Regions from separate parts of the Homo sapiens genome. Here region 1 is linked to region 2. Evidence: promoter capture Hi-C in 16 types of primary human blood cells and fetal thymus (Javierre and others, 2016). All regions are on one chromosome and are shown on one strand. The core of a region is centred on a gene start or on the middle of the fragment in contact, and the rest is flanking DNA. Distances in the headings are between cores, read along the strand shown. Region 1 overlaps FBXW2 (F-box and WD repeat domain containing 2). Region 2 holds the start of GSN-AS1 (GSN antisense RNA 1).

Region 1 (3,791 bases), core at 64-2,563, 520 kb before region 2:
AAGCTTTAATAACAGACAATGTGATTTCATAGGCAACCAATTAGCAGATTAATGGATCATTTAACTTTCTTTACTTAAAACCAATACTCCACTCAAGAAAGATGAACCCAAAATGCATCCTCTAACACTGACCAACATAACTAAGTACAAATGAAGTCAATGGTGTACCCCATTAGCATGCTGCGTTGTATGTCAATAAAACAAGCCCTCCCCCACCCCGAGCCCTGGCCCCTGGCAAAACATAGATAAATGATTGTGCACTGCGTGATGATACCATTAGGTGAGAACTTTGGTTCATGCAGTCGGCTGCCGCAGAGGTTGCACCCAAAACCCGCAGCCCCGGCACCCAAAGTCAGTCAGCGGTGGTGGCTCATGGTGTCAGCCGTGCTCCTTCCACAACACCAGGTGAATACTGTGGTCAGGCATGCTGGTGGCAAAGACCAAGCCCGTGTCATTGTGCCCATCCAGTCCATTCAGCCAGGATGCTTCGCCTGCCAGGAAGCTTGAGCCTCTCTTTGATTTCCTGTACTCTGGCAGAGGCCAGCGACTAATCAGGCTCTCTGTCCGCAAGTCCATGATGTACAGGTAGCGGTTGTCAAACAGCAGGGCAAAGATATCTCCAAAGCCAAGCAAGGCCAAGTTTGCTATCTCAGGAGTCTTGATGACCCTACAAGGATGAGAGTTAGGGACTGTGAAAGAAGGCAACCTTGCTTCTGTTTATGCTACTGTAATCTTTTCTGGAGATATTTAAAACCAATATTAAATTCAAGCAAATTTAGAGTTAAATGTTTTTGATAAAAAGTAAAATATAAGGAGAAAAGCTCAGCCCACTTATAAAAAAGCCGGGAGCGGGAGAGGTGCGTTCAGTCATTATATAATATTGGCATGGAAGGGAAAGGTGGTGTTTGATCAAAGTTTTTTTTTTTTTTTTTGAGACAGGGTCTCACTGTGTTGCCCACACTGGAGTACAGGGGCGTGATCTCGGCTCACTGCATCCTCCACCTCCCAGGTTCAAGTGATTCTCCTGCTTCAGCCTCACAAGTAGCTGGGACTACAGACGGCTGCCACTGCACCTGGCTAATTTTTGTATTTTTAGTAGAGACGAGGTTTCACCATGTTGGCCAGGCTGGTCTCGAACTACTGACCTCAGATGATCTGCCCACCTCGGCCTCCCAAAGTGCTGGGATTACAGGCGTGAGCCACCGCACCCGGCCTGATGAAAGTTTATAAAAGTACAAAACATCTATCCAGGCTAGAAAGGATCTTACAGATAACATTTAACTAAACAATCTATTTTTAAGCTGTGAAAACCAAAGCTCAGGCAGAGTAAATGCTTTGGCTAAGGATTCACAATTTGTCAGTTACCAGTGAGAACTAGAAGGCAAGAGTTAACTCTTACCACTAGGTAAAAAGATGTATTCATCAACTCCTAGAATACTGGAACACCCTGAAGCCCAGAAGAAACCTGAAAGCCAAGTGACTAAAGTGCTACTCTACTCAGCAGGCAGCAAACAAATGGGTTTCTCTCTAAAAACAGTAAAGGCTGAAAATATTTAAAGTTTCCCAAATAACTTAGAAACATTTATTAATAATAGATTCATAAAAAGTTATTATGAAAAAAACTAGGGAAGAAACAACTAGGGGAAGCAGAGAAAAGTAGGGAGTTGGGAGGACAGCCCTAACTTTCTCAGAGGCAGTTTCCAAGACATCAATGACAAAGGCTAGGAGACACCTAGCTAAACAGCAGCACAAAGGAAAACAAAAAACAACTTAGCTTCTGTTGTCTGCGCCCTTAGTGAAGCAAAAGATTAACAAGAAAAGCTGATGTCCTCTTTGGAGGAACTAAGAGCTGAGCTACCAGACAAGCAGTAGACAAATACTGCTCTGTGACATATGGTGGGGCTCCTGTGGGAGGAGAGTTTAGCCTAGGTTTTAAGGACACCACCAAACTAGTATAGGTTCAAGAGAGCAACCAGAATGGGAGGACCTGGAGACCAGGACAAGGAAGAACAGCTGAAGGCTATCAGCTGAGATGGGGAAGGAAAGAGTTGGCAGGCATAGGGTAACTGTATATGAGGATCACTTCTGAATAGTGAAAGATGTGTAAGAGACAGCCCAGACATTATAAGCTTTAGAAGACAGAACTAGGATCAGAGGCAAAGAGTTACAAAGGAGCCAATTTCAGTCTCATATCAGGAAGGATGGGGGACATTCAATATTTATCAAGCATTTACATGTGCAAGGCACCGAACTTCATAATTAACATGTTATCTTTTTTAATTATTTTTATTTATTTATTTATTGAGATGGAGTCTCGCTCTGTCACCAGGCTGGAGTGCAGTGGCGTGATCTCGGCTCACTGCAACTTCCACCTCCCGGATTCAAGCGATTCTCGTGCCTCAGCCTCCCGAGTAGCTGGGATTACAGATGCCCGCCACCACGCCCAGCTAATTTTTGTATTTTTAGTAGAGATGAGGTTTTACCATGTTGGCGAGATGGTCTCGATCTCAACCTTGTGTTCCACCCGCCTCAGCCTCCCAAAGTGCTGGGATTACAGGCGTGAGCCACTGCACCCAGCGTGTTATCTCAATCCTCATAATGCAGTTAGGTAGAGGTATTCTCTCCACTATATCAGTAAACAAGACTAAAACATCTTGCCATGAGTCATACAGCTAACATAATGCAGGCCTAGCAAATGTTTTCTGAGTATCATAGGTGCTGAGTGCTGGCTGGGCCCCTGAAGAGAGATAAGCAAGATAGTCTTTGCCCCTTAGAAGGGGAGGGCATAGCATATAACTGCCAGAGTATGTGAGAACATGCTCAGCACAAACACTCCAATGGATATAACAGGAGTATCAAGGAGTGAGCAAATCTTTCTGTCTTTTATAGCTGGACCTGGAAGAATATTTTTTCTCTTTCTTGAAGAAGAAATGCAACTGGGCAATATAGATAGAATACGGAAAGCCTGTCTAAATTTTACAAATTCTCTCTCATGGGCATGTGTTTCTCTTATAATTAATATCTGAAAAAAAAATCTATGATACTAAGAATATCAACAAGACATCACTTCTATGAAACTAAGAAAATAGTTAACAGGTGCTGGCCCCTGCTTGAAAAGCAGAGAGTAAGCTCACCTTCCCAGACTGAAAATGGAAGAAACTTCTGCTAAAAGAGGTAGACATTTAGATTAGATGACATGTTTGAGAACATCCAAAATCAATCACTGAACACTCCCTATGGTGTCAGCCTTTATAAACAGGTTTACAAGATGGAGTCTGATCCCAGGGAAAGCAGTAAGTTCAGATTAACTTCAAGTAAAGGGGAATCAGAGGTCCCAATATGTGTGTTCCAAATGAGTTATAACTGATAACTCATCCATCATTTTCTACTTAGATGACTCATATTCATTCACTCAACAAATATTTACTAAGAGCCTAAAGTGAGCTAGCCAATGTTGGTACCAGGATTTCGGCAGTGAATAAGACAAAGTTCCTCACACTCAAACTATCCAATACTGAATTTCCTAGTCAAACCTGTTTTTTCTATTTCTTTACTTGCTCATTCACCCAGGTGCTCAAGCTAGGAAACGTGGCAACCATCCAATTCTCCTCCTCCTCCTCATTCAAATCACAAATTCGATCACCAAGCTCTATTGATTTTATGCCCTAAATTTTTCTCTAATTTGTTCACTAATATATGCACTACCACAGCTCTAGTCCAAGACACCATCTTTTGCCTGCACTATTGCCAACAGCTTTCTACTGACCTCCCCACATCTACTTAGTCCCTTT
Region 2 (3,775 bases), core at 543-3,042:
TCTGAGCTGGGTGTTGAAGAATCAGCAAAAAACAAGACTTTCCCATTCCTCATAGGTCTTCAGTAGATCATTATTTACACTGAAGATTAATTCTTGCTGTGAAGGAAACGATCAGGTTATGGGAGCGTTTGGGATTGGGTGGGAGTGGTGAGGTCTTATCTGGACAGATCAGGGAAGCCTCCCCTAAAAAGTGAGACCTGAAGAGGGAGAGGGAGGTGGCTGAGTGAGCAGGGAATGGAGGAGCCCCCTAGGCAGAGAGGCGACCTGGGTAAGGCTTTAGTGAGGGGGAGTCCTTGAGGAACTGAAAGAAGTGAGGGAGGCTGGCCAGGGAGGGGGGCGTGGCAAGAGGAGGGCCTGGGGGCCAGGCAGCACCTAGGTTATGTGGGCCCTTGAGTTTGGATTTTATGCTAGACCTCTGGGAACCATTGGAAGTTTTAAAGCAGGAGGGTGACTTGCCCAGATTTCATTATCAGAACCCTTGAAAGGGACAGACACAAGGACCATCCTGATAAGCCATGAGGGTGCAATTTTTGGTTCTTCCACATCAGGGTATCCTGATGCTGTGCCTTGGTACGGGGCTTGTCATTGGGCAGTCCTGGGAAATGTGCACTTTCCCAGGATTCTCTCAGCTCTTTGCATTTTTTAGTTTACCCGGCCAGTCCTTGCTAAGCTGCTGCAGTGGAGAGGGAGGTGAAGCAGACACCACCGGGCCCTCTGAGATCCACTCTAATCCAAGACGGAGACAGTGGAAGTTAACGCCCAGAGTGCTCTGTGATAAGTGCCAAGGGGCTCAGGGAGACAAAGAGTGCTTTTCCTTACTTGAGAGTCAAAGAAGGCTGAGAAGGGGGAGTTGGGCATTCCAGGCAAGAAGGCACCGTAGGCACAGGCTTGGCCGCTGGAAGAGCCCACTGCGCCTGGGGGCTAGTGAGCAGGAGTGTGAGGGTTGAGGTGGGGAGCTGGTTAGAGAGGTTTTGAATGCTGGGTTTCTATCCTCTGGGTACCAGGGAGCCATGGACAGGTCCTCAGCTGAGGAGTGACTTGATCCATGGGATTTCAGAACAATTAGTCCATGGCAGGCAGAGCGGAGGGTGGATCAGAGGACAGCAGCACTGGGAGCTGGTTGGAGAGAATGAGTACCATTGCTGAAGCCTTGTCACTCCCCCCACCGCACACACACAGCAACATCCTCAACGCCCCTTTCTGTTCCATACCTCTGTTCGGTTATCCCCGAATTGGCCGGCCAGCCTGAGCTGTCCAGAGCCCTTTCACAGCAGCACTGGGGTGTGTTAAACCCTGGGCTCCAGAGGCAAACAGGTCTGGGCCTGAAACATCACCGTAGCCCTGACTTGCTCTGTGCCCTTGGACAAGTCCCTTACTCTTCTCAGCCTCAGTTTCCACATCTGTGAAATGGGGGTGATAATGGAGTTGGTGATGATTAAACAATGGGGAAATCAAGTCCTTAGCACATGTCTGGTGTATAACGATGGCTGTGTTAGCTTTGTGTCCTTGTTGATTGTAATGGCCCAGTCCATGTTGTAATCTGCCCCTCAGGGAGTTCTTGTCTTTGGACATAAATCTGAATTCTCAACTAGAAACAAGATGTCCCCAGCAGCCCCAAAGGAAGCCTCTAGTGGGACACTGAGGGGATTGGACATGCTGTTACCCACTGGGACCCGGCACAGGGCTGGGCACACAGAAGCCTGGACTGGGTTTTATTTGTTCCTTTATCCCCAGCACTCAGCACAAGGCTGGTACAGCATGGCCAGGTGGCTGGGTTCTCAAAAATACTAAACAAAAAAATGAAATTAAAAAAAAATTATTAATCTTGGACATCATCCCCCAGCACCTTTATTTTACAGCTGAGGAATCTGGGGCCCAGAGAGGAACAGTGGCTCATCCAAGGCCACTCAGCTCCTCAGTGGCAGGCCCTGAACCTGTTCATTTCTCCCTGCTCACATGTTTATTACAATTCTAATTTTTGAAATCCTGGTAAGTTAAAAATGGCATCATGTCCCACCTCCCTAATTTACCTTTGGGGAAACTGGGGCCCAGAGAATGGTAGTGACTCCTTCAGGTCCTCAGAGAGGGAGAAGCAGGAAAAGGGCCTCCTCTCCACAAAGCATACCCCCACTAATCAGCAGTAGGCAGGCAGGTTCTTCCCCCCAAAATTGACGGCCTTGTGCTTAAGGAAGCAAAGTGGAGTGTGAACAATAGTTTCCTGAGGAAGTGTTGGGTTTTAATTGTGTTGAGGAGAAGAACCATTTCCGGAACTGTGTGTGCCTGTGATGCCTGCGGAGTTGGCTTGGCACAGCTATTTCCAGACTAATCCTGAGTCCTATTTATAGGCTGAGATGATTAGGTTGGCCTGTGTCAGGAGAGGCCCACATAGCTCCCCCCAGCCTCGCGATGGCCGAGGAAGAAGCCCTCAGGGGCAATTCTGACCCATGGGTGAGTAGCACGGGATCTGGGGTGGTCCCCGAAGCCAGCTCAGAGGAGGGACGCCAGGGAGACCCGAGGGAAAGTCCCGCTCCTGACTCCTAGTTCAACACCAGCCAGGCCCCCTGCAGAGATGAAACCAGTTCCAATTCTATTCTCTCCCTGCTTAAAAATCCTCAGTGTGTCCGGTCAGGCCAGGACTCCGTAGCAGTCAGACCCCTTCTCCCCGAGGTATCCACTGTCTCAACCCCAGCCATGCTTCTCCAAACTGTTTACGCTTCCTTGTGCAGGCCACACCCCCAAGCCTTTGCGTCTGTTGTTCCCACCTTCCCAAAAGGGAAACTCCATTTATCCTCCAAGGCTCTGCCCCAATGCCCCTCCTCCGTGGCTCTGTTGGGCCATGGGTGCTCCCTCCTTTGTGCTCCCAGGGCCCACAACTGCTTGAATGACTATTGGTGTTCCTGTTTGTGTGCCCTCTGGGCCGGGAAGTCAGAGAAAGAAAGGAGACAATTTGTGATTGAACAGCCACTGTGGCCATCATTCTCCTTACCTGTCTGATGAGAGCTGATCTTCATGCCACTGTGTACAGTAGGTATTTTTTAAAGGTGTGTAGAAGTGAGAGTCAGACTTCGGACTTCAGAGTCAGACAGCCCTGAATTCCTAATGGTGTAACCTTGGGCTGAACCTCTCTGAGCTTTTGTTCCTCCGTCTATAAAAGGAGACAATGCCAGCCATGGGTTTTGGGGAGGATTCAACAAGACAATGCTTATAAAGTACTTATCATCACAATGGGCTTCTATGAGCATAGGAGGTGTTATTTGCAGATGGGGACGTTCATTCCGGGGACGTCCCTATCTAGGGCCCCACACAAGGGAGTGGCTGAGACTCCAAGTCTTGGAGCCTCCGACTCCACCCTGTGTTCTCCCTCCCCTCCCTCTCTTGGCCCCCTGGGCCTATTCTCTTCCCCAGATCAGGGAAAGCTTTGTTTGGCGATTGTTTTTCCTAAGAAGTTTCCTCTGTGGGGCCTCTGGGTGACTCAGCCCTGAGTCACCGGGAGGCTGAGGACAGGGGGAGGAGTGGGAGGGAGGCGGAGGGAATGGAGAGACGAGAAGAGGAAAGGGCTCTAATTCTAGCCCTGGCTCTCCCACTGTTTGATCAACTAGGTCTGACCAGGCCCCTCTCCTGCCTAGCCTCAGTTTCCCCAAATGTGAAAGGAAGATGTGGGCCCAGTCCTGGCTGAGCCTCAGAATCAGAGGTTCCCGGGCCCCACCCTAGACCTACAGACTCAGAGGCTAGGGGTGGGGCCTGGGAATCTATTGTTTCCTGAGCTCCTTGGGTG

The links. The method cuts DNA at HindIII sites, captures the fragments that hold promoters and counts their contacts. A CHiCAGO score of 5 or more calls a contact.
Region 1: a contact is called between a fragment that was not itself captured here and the fragment with the promoter of GSN-AS1 in region 2, in 1 of 17 cell types (total B cells). The highest score is 5.2, in total B cells.

What each region holds. Positions count from the first base shown.
Region 1 is chr9:120,764,181-120,767,971 of GRCh38, forward strand. It overlaps FBXW2 (F-box and WD repeat domain containing 2), which reads right to left. Exons shown (of 8, transcript NM_012164.4): 8 at 1-667. The coding sequence ends at 379. Among named protein-coding and RNA genes, the nearest start is that of FBXW2, 27 kb to the right of the region's middle. The HindIII fragment of the contact is 1,627 bases long and covers 501-2,127 here.
Region 2 is chr9:121,283,738-121,287,512 of GRCh38, forward strand. It overlaps GSN-AS1 (GSN antisense RNA 1), which reads right to left and starts at 1,793. Exons shown (of 1, transcript NR_103560.1): 1 at 1-1,793. The region is part of intron 2 of GSN (gelsolin); the gene reads left to right. RefSeq lists enhancers at 1,020-1,520, 2,335-3,534 and a silencer at 3,674-3,775. The HindIII fragment of the contact is 6,763 bases long and covers 1-3,414 here.